Linked DNA regions of Homo sapiens: regions 2 and 3 are each linked to region 1. The links are contacts of gene promoters, found by promoter capture Hi-C in blood cells and fetal thymus (Javierre and others, 2016). All regions are on one chromosome and are shown on one strand. Each heading gives the region's core, a stretch centred on a gene start or on the middle of the fragment in contact. The rest is flanking DNA. Distances are from core to core; before and after follow the strand shown.

What was found. Contacts are between HindIII fragments. The CHiCAGO score rates a contact against its expected background, and 5 or more counts as called.
Region 2: a fragment that was not itself captured here is called in contact with the fragment with the promoter of IKBKE in region 1 in 5 of 17 cell types (neutrophils, total CD8 T cells, naive CD4 T cells and 2 more); the score reaches 7.7 in neutrophils.
Region 3: a fragment that was not itself captured here is called in contact with the fragment with the promoter of IKBKE in region 1 in 6 of 17 cell types (activated CD4 T cells, total CD8 T cells, neutrophils and 3 more); the score reaches 5.9 in activated CD4 T cells.

The regions. Positions count from the first base shown.
Region 1 is chr1:206,469,176-206,471,848 of GRCh38, reverse strand. It overlaps IKBKE (inhibitor of nuclear factor kappa B kinase subunit epsilon), which reads right to left and starts at 1,373. Exons shown (of 22, transcript NM_014002.4): 1 at 1,151-1,373; 2 at 604-693. RefSeq lists enhancers at 1,997-2,306, 1,826-2,463. The HindIII fragment of the contact is 16,341 bases long and covers 1-2,673 here.
Region 2 is chr1:206,662,983-206,665,655 of GRCh38, reverse strand. No RefSeq gene overlaps it. Among named protein-coding and RNA genes, the nearest start is that of MAPKAPK2, 21 kb to the left of the region's middle. The HindIII fragment of the contact is 9,186 bases long and covers 1-2,673 here.
Region 3 is chr1:206,630,727-206,633,399 of GRCh38, reverse strand. No RefSeq gene overlaps it. Among named protein-coding and RNA genes, the nearest start is that of DYRK3, 3.5 kb to the left of the region's middle. RefSeq lists an enhancer at 2,009-2,078. The HindIII fragment of the contact is 1,167 bases long and covers 769-1,935 here.

The DNA of each region.
Region 1 (2,673 bases), core at 124-2,623:
ACTTTTTCTCTGTGTAATCTTTTTTAAAAATGCAAATCCTTGATAATGTCATTTCATTGAGCCAGAGGCCCCTTGAAGAGATCGGTGGTCAACTCCTAGTTTCAGATCAGGTAGGAGCGGACATTACACAGAAGCAACTGAGGTACTGAGAGGCTTCCTGAAGACAACACAGTAGCTCAGCATGAATGAGTGGGTCTGGTTTTCCCCGCTGAGGCTGGAGGCAGCCAGCAGGTCTGGGGGCTGGGGCTGGGGTTGGAGCACAGCAGGCTGAAATCAAGGCCAAGGGCTCTGATACTGGGGCAAGGAACAGCTCAGGACTCTGGGATAATAGGCAGTGAGGTGCAAAGCGCAGACCCCCAGACAAGCGGTGTGCCCCTGGATTCTGTGCCCGGGAGCTCTGGTTGTGGCACATCTGGCTTAACTCTGCACGCTCTGCAGATCCTCCCCCCACCACCCCAAGCACCTGGTGCAAAGAAGGGCTCAGTGGCCCTCAGCCAGTGGTTGGATGAATGAGCAGTGGACAGTGAAGCATGTGAGACACCACCCACCCACCTCTCCCCTCCCCTCCCTCCTCAGGGCTCTGCTGTGGCCAAGTGCACTTACCCCACACTCTGAGCTGCCCTGAGTCAGGCAAAGGCTCTTCCTGGCGAGTGTATGTTATGCTTTCTGTCTGTGGCACGTCCAGGAGCTGAGCTACACCGGAAAGAGGAGGGCGGATGAGAGGCGCCCCTCAGTGCAGTTGCTTCTCAGCCTCCATCAAAGGCCGCCGGCCCTAGCCCTTTAACCCTTTCCTGTTTGTCACCTTCCCCCACAGGGCTGGGCTGGGGGTTTCCAGCTCTATTCCCAAACTGTTCAGGGAGCCTTTCCCAGCGTCTCCTACTCCTGAGACTCCGGCCAGGGAGAAAGACCCCGGGAAAGGTGAGGGCAGGCGCTGGGTGCTGATCGCTGGCTTTGGGTGTTGGTAAGCAGAGCCCAGGGAGGGCTTGTGGTTGGCCCGTGGTGGCTCACCTCCATGCCACACACAACGCTCTATGTGAGAGCACCGCTGCCAACAAGCCCACACCCCTGCACCCGGCTGAGCTGCCCTGCAGCTGCCCCTTGTCTGGCCCCTCATTCCACCCCCACCCCCCTCCGCACGCTGCACACTCACCCCATCTCCACTGCAGGGGATGCAGGCTTGTGGGACTGGGTGACACCCCCAGAGCTTTCAGGGCTCACTGTCATTCATGAGCAGTGTTCTTAGCCTCCTGGTAGCCAAGGGCCCCTAGGACCCACAGGCAGGGCCAGTTGCAATGTCTGTGCCACCCCAGGAGCTGGGACTAGTGGGTTTCTTCCCTGCCTCCTTGTGGCGGTGGGACACCAAGCTCAGCACTGAGTCCTGGCTCTCAGCTCTCTCGCACTTCCTGATTTCCGTCTCTCGCTCTCTCTTTCTCTCTTAAAGAGACAGAGGCAACTCGGTGCAGCCACCAGCTCAGCAGAAAAGAGAAAGAGGATGCTCTGAGTTCCCAAGGGTAGGCAATAGGACCAGAGTGTGAGCCACAGAGAAGCCAGGAACTGGGGCCCTTCTGGTAATCTTGATGGGCAGCTGGGTGCTGTTTTGGCATCTCCCACAGTTCACTGGAGCAGGGAAGTTCAGGGCTCTTCCCAGAGTCAACAGAGCAGGTTGGGCAAGTTAACTAAGTGGAAAGCTGCCTGGGAAGTCCATGCTCCCACACCCAGGAACCCCAAGGAAGTGTGGGAGCTATGCCGATCCAGTCCTAGAAGTTGGATCTGAGTCACCTTCCCAGGAGGCCTGCAGAGGTCCGAGAGCAAGCGCGGGGACCCAGCTGATGCCTTCCAGTGTGACCTGAGCACACAGCATGCAGCCCCTCCCAGCCAGCTCACTCACCCGCAGAGTAACAGCTACTCTGTGGGTTGATTGGATGACATGGATATATTTGGAATTGTTTGGGAGCTTGGAAAGCATTTTACAGAAAGGCATTGAAGGCATGGAGGCCCACACACTTCAGTAATTTACCCATGCTCTTCAGAGACTGCTGGGGCTGGCACCCAGGTGCCAACTTCCCAGCCAGGACTCGATGCCCCACATCAAATGTCCTAGGAGGCTGGAGGGGTCTGTCCTGCTCTGGTCAGCTCAGAGATGGCAGTTGGATATGAAATGGTTAAAACCAGGAAATTCCATGTTTCTATAGAATGTTGGAGGGACTTTCCCATGGCCACACCTGGTGGTTTCCTCCGCCAGCCCCACCCCTCCCACAGTGACACTAGAACAGGAGCAGAGCTGAGAACTGCCTAGTGCTCAGATAAAGAGAACTCCCCATAACACCTCCAGCTGGAGGAGTTGCTGCAACTTCTCACATCAGGACCAGGAGGAATGTGCCTGAGTGCCTGAGATCCTCATGTTCCACCCAGTCTTCCCAGCTTGCTTTTTTTTTTTGAGATGGAGTCTCACTCTGTCACCCAGGCTGGAGTGCAGTGGCATGATGTTAGCTCACTGCAACCTCCACCTCCTGGGTTCAAGTGATTCTTCTGCCTCAGCCTCCCAAGTATCTGGGACTACAGGCATGCACCACCATGCCCGGCTAACTTTTTGTATTTTTAGTAGAGATGGGGTTTCACTGTGTGGTTGGTGAGGTGGATTGAACAGGTTGGACTTGATCTCCCAACCTCCTG
Region 2 (2,673 bases), core at 87-2,586, 190 kb before region 1:
TACTCTTGTGCCCAGTCTAGGGAGACCAGAAGGAGAGAATGCGTGCAGTTGAAAAGATAATTAGCAGTGGCTTAAGTCATAAAGAAGCTAATAGTTTCTTTATGGTTCTTTAATAGTGGCAGCCCAGTACAGCTTCTGTTGGAGATGATGAAAAAGTTCTAGAGACAGATGATGGTGATAGTTGCACAACATCGTTAATGTACTTAATGCCAATGAATTGTACATGTAAAAATCATTAAAATAGTAACTTTCGTGTTGTATTTTGCCACAATAAAAAAATTGAGGTACACCTAGCAAAACTCTTGAAAATAACTTTTAAACACACAGTGCAACATTGCTCCCAAAGAATTGACCTTTCAGACCATTCAGACAACTCACCTCATTTTTGTTTTTAAGCCAGCAGTACAAAAAGAAAAGAAAAGAAGCTATAGCAAAAGCTCCACTAACTGACCTGTGGAAAGAGAGTCACAAGCATGGGCGAAGTATCTCCCTTAGGGAGAACAAGAATTTGTTCTCTGTCTTGTGTCTCACCAACAAAATCCAGCATCTGATAGACAAAGAGTCACAGTGCATAAAAGAAATGTCCGGTAAGATACCTAAAAATAAATGTCAATAATAAGACTGTTAAGTGGCAACAACAACAAATAGGCTCACGACTCCTCCCTATGTCTTTCCAGCCTGAGTGCCGTAATCACCATGTCATCCCGTCCTCCTCTGGCCATCAGCCTAGGCAGCTGGAAAGGTGACTTCCTGACCAGAATGAAAGAATCCTAGCAGCCACGAGGAGCTGAGCCTTGTGGGGTATCTCAGGACCAGGCATGGGTGACAGTGATGCTGGCTTCTGACAGGGAAGATCACCCTAGCCAGCAATGGAACTAACTGGGTCGTGGGACCAGGAAGCATCCCTCTTTCCTTGTCTGTGATTAGTGGTTCACATTGGATCTCACAGCCTCCTTGGGAGGCAGACAGTGCCTCTAGCATCATCTCCAAATTACAGATATGGAAACAGCTAGGCTTAAATAAAGAAATTCAAACTCAGATTCAGGGCACAGCGCCAATGCTTCCTCCACTGTGCCATGTTGATCCATAAAGTTGAAAGCCTCTGGCTAGGGACCATAACTGCAAACAGGAGAAAAAGAAGGAAGCTAGAAAGAAAAGGAATCACCCTGGACTCACACCGCAGGCTCCCAGTCACCTTTCAGAGACTTGGGGGAGAAATTGCAAGACCAAGTGAGGGCCAAGTAAGCTGCCCCTGTGTAATCTTATCCCGATATTCACCACCAGGGGGGGTAGTTGCTCCACATCGGTGGTCTTTCTGCGGCGCTAAGGAGGTATTTGCTAAGGGTGAGAGACCCTCAGGGCTCTAAGGGGTCTTTTTCTCTCTCCCTTGCCCGAGTGCTGCCTGCATTTGCTTAGCACGCGTCACCCTGTTTTAGATAAGGAAGGCATTGCAGAGATCATCTGGTCCCAGGCAGCTGGCAGTTCCCCCTACTCTTAAGAGCTCCAAAAATAGACTCCAGCACCTCAGTTGGCTGCTATCACAAGGCTGCCGGTGTGGTCTGTTGGCTGCCCACAGCCCTGAAACAGGAGCCGGACTAGGGCGGGTGAGCCCCAGGCGACCCTGCATTCGCCCTTGCGGAGGAAGCAGCGGTTCCTCCTGCCCTAGAGACCCTGCACAGCTGCCCCAGCACCTGCTCCCACGGCACCTGCTCCCACCCTTCTGGCCTCCTCACTGGCCATGCCGGCTCCCCTCCGTGCCCAGTGCCTGAAACCCTTGGCTTGCAAGCCCAAAGGCTGCAGCCCCTTCGTCTGCCTCTTGAGCTCCTTATTCTAAGAAGCAGCCTTGGTAGAGGTGAGCCTGGGCTCACAGAACCCCATTTAGCATCTACTCCCGCCTTCTCTTGTCCCCATGCATCTGCTCGTACTTCATTCCACCTGGCATCCTTGGAGGAATGGCTAATTAAATGGAAAAGAGCTGGCCTATTTTTTGGTGTTTTTCAGCTTAGACCTGGGGGAATTGTCACAAAATGTGGAACGAGCCCTGGGGAAACTGACAAGCTCTGGGGTTGGCTGGTTCCTCTAGGATTGGCAGTTCCTGAGTCCCACAGACTGGCTGTTCCACTTAAGGTTTCATCTCATTCTCTCGGTCGTCAAATTTGGGAATGGGGTAAAAACTGGAGGAAGGGGAAATGTCCTCCTGGGTGTTCAACCCACATTGTCCTAGAAGAGGAAATAAGCTCATTTATTTGGCCCCGTTCTTTAGTTGCAAAATCAGGATGGTAACAGATTTCAAATAACAACTGTTCTCTGGAGAAAGATGGGGATGGGGAGGTGAGGAGGTGGGATGTGGGGTGGGGCCCCGAGAGGAGCAGAGGAACAGATCCCTGTCTCAGGTCCTATTGCTTGCATTTGAACAGTGCCATCTCCTCCTAGAAAATTGCCTTTCCAAAAAGAAGCTCATTGTGTCCCTCCCTTGCATTAGAACATCTTTGGTTCCTTATTTGTCTGCTTAACTGGTGAACTCCTTAACTGGAGCTATAATATCCCTTTAAACCATCCCACAGCTTTTCCACTAGACTCAATTACTGCCATCCTAGGCTCTGGCCACCCTTAATTTTTCACCATCCTTTCTCACCTTCTTGCTGTTTCCACACATTTCAAGTCCTCTGCCAG
Region 3 (2,673 bases), core at 103-2,602, 160 kb before region 1:
AGACATCTGCAAAATAAGGTACCTGCAAGTTCTAATACATTGACTAAGGAAATAAACAACAGTAAAAAAGATGCAACTATTCCAGGATCTTAAAAACCCACTGGGACATTCACAATGTGATCAAAGTTTCAAATGCACAGATTAAGAAAACATCCCCGTGGCCACATTTACCTGGAATTTTGTGATAAAATAGCTGTTAGTAGGTTATGTTAAGTTTGGACAAGTTTCATTGACATTTCTGTACAGCAAAATGTGCCATAATGCCTACTGTGACATGTGCATCACAGAATTGGAAAATATTTTTTAAAAATCACTGGAGAGAACCAGTGAAACTTACTTTTTTCCTCAAGCTATGTTAACCTCAAATTGACCCGTGTTCCTGAAATGTATACTTGCTATTTTTTTCAGAAACACTGAAATCTAGCTCACTGGAACACTAAAGCCATGGCTTATTTTTCTGGAGCCTCAGAAAACTGTCTCTCTTCTATACCTCAGGCATCTCCTGTTCTTATGCCCTCCCCTCTCCACCAAGATTTGAAAAATGCCCCTTATTAACAAAGCAAACAAAAGCCATGCCCGCAGTGCTGTAGTACAGCTACAACTAAGACACACTTAGTTCTGTGTCTCCTAAACCCTAAAGGTTGTCCTTATTATCACAAACTCTTCACCTATTTTTCTTTTCCAAAACTTTTGCCATCTTTTTCCACTTGTTCCTCCTAAGTCAGCGTGACCAGTTCCACCTATAGCCCTGAGGGGTCCTATGAAGCTTCATTTCTGAAATCTTGAAACCAAACCAGGAGTCTTTCTAATCATCATTACCATTTGCTAAGTATTTATTATGTTCCAAGCACTATCTGAAGCACTTTAACATATTTGCTCATTTAAAACTCACAGTAGTCCCGTGAGATAGGTATTATCTCCATCCTACACTTCAGAAAACAGTCTCAGAGTTTAATAACTTGCCCAAGGTCACCCAGCCAGTAAGTGATGAACTGAAATTCAAACCCTGGTCTGTTTGGTTGAAAAACTCAGCCCCTCGACTGCCTGTATTCCACCTGTATTCCCTGAGCCTGGCAGGCTAGCCCAGGCTAGACCACTGGACCCTTGAATTCTGTGACATAGTTTCTCTTGATTTAAGATTCTGAAGATGGTAAGCAGAATGATAGTTCCCCAAAGATGTCCGCATCCTAATTCCAAGAATCTGTAAATATGTCACTTTACTTGACAAAAAGGGACTTAGCAAATGTGATGAAGTTAAGGATCTTGAGATGGGGTGATTTTCCTAGATTATCTGAGTGGGCCCACTGTAATCACAGGAGTCCTTTTAAGATGGAAGGGGAGGCCAGGTGCAGTAACTCATGCCTGTAATCCCAGCACTTTGGGAGGCCGAAGTGGGCGGATCACCTGAGGTCAGGAGTTCGAGACCACCCTGGCCAACATGGTGAAACCCCGTCTCTACTAAAAACACAAAAATTAGCTGGGCATGGTGGTGTGTGCCTGTAGTCCCAACTACTCGGGAGGCTGAGGCAGGAGAATCACTTGAACCCAGGAGGCTGAGGTTGCAGTGAGCAGAGATCACGCCACTGCACTCCAGCCTGGGTGACAGAGTGAGACTCCATCTAAAAAAAAAGGATGGAAGGGGAAAGCAGGAGGGTCAGAGAGGGAAATGTGACCATGGAACAGAGGTCAGAGAGGGAAAGAGATTTGAAGATGCTGTTGTTGGTCTTGAAGATGGAGGAGGGGGCCGTGAGTTAAGGAATGAAGGTGGCCTCTAGAAGCTGGAAAAGGCAGGGAAACAAATTTTCTTCTAGAGCTTCCAGAAGGAACGAATCTCTGCTTACACCTCAATTTTAGGAGTTCTGACTTCCAGAACTGTAAGATAATAAATTTTCCTTGTTTCAAGCCACTAAATTTGTAATTTGTTGCATTAAAGCTTAGGAACCTTGGGTACTGTAATAGATTAAACATAGCACATCCTTTGCAGCTGTTCCCAGGGAGTAGAGGAAACAATTTTCCTGGTTCTTGAAGCTGACTGGCCACGTGACTTGATTTGACCAATAACACGTGAGGAATTTAGGCGCTTAGGCCTCAGGAGACCCCCCTTACAGCTTCTTCTCTCTTGCTCTTAGATGCTGCCACCATGTGGACAAGTCTGAGCTGGATTTCTGTAGTCCTCAGCTAATACCAATTGCCAGACAAGTGAGGGAAGCCACCTGGCTGAGTTGCCAGCTGACAGCAGCCATATGAGAGTTCCACGTAAAGCTAGCAGAAGAACCTCTTGGCTGCACCCCACCCAAATCAACAGCCCCTTGAGAATTATGAGCAAATAAAATGATTACTTTAAGCCACTAAGCTTTGGGGTATGGCAATAAATAAATGATAGGGGTACTTTTGAAAAATACCAATTATGCCTACCCTCCATCCCACCAGATCTAATGATGAACAGTTTCTTGGTAAGGATCTCTGCTCATATTTTTATTGTGGCTGTTGTTCATCAGCCAGGTTTGGAAATCACTACTGTAGACCTTGGAGACCAAGTCCTATTGAGTCATCTGGCTCATGGAAGGTCTTAGAAGACCAATGCACCTGCTCTATTCACAGCATTTGGGCCAAGGAACTAGTTCTCTCTCAATCACCTAGTGTACAGGTTAGGGCTTTTTCTATTGCAAATAT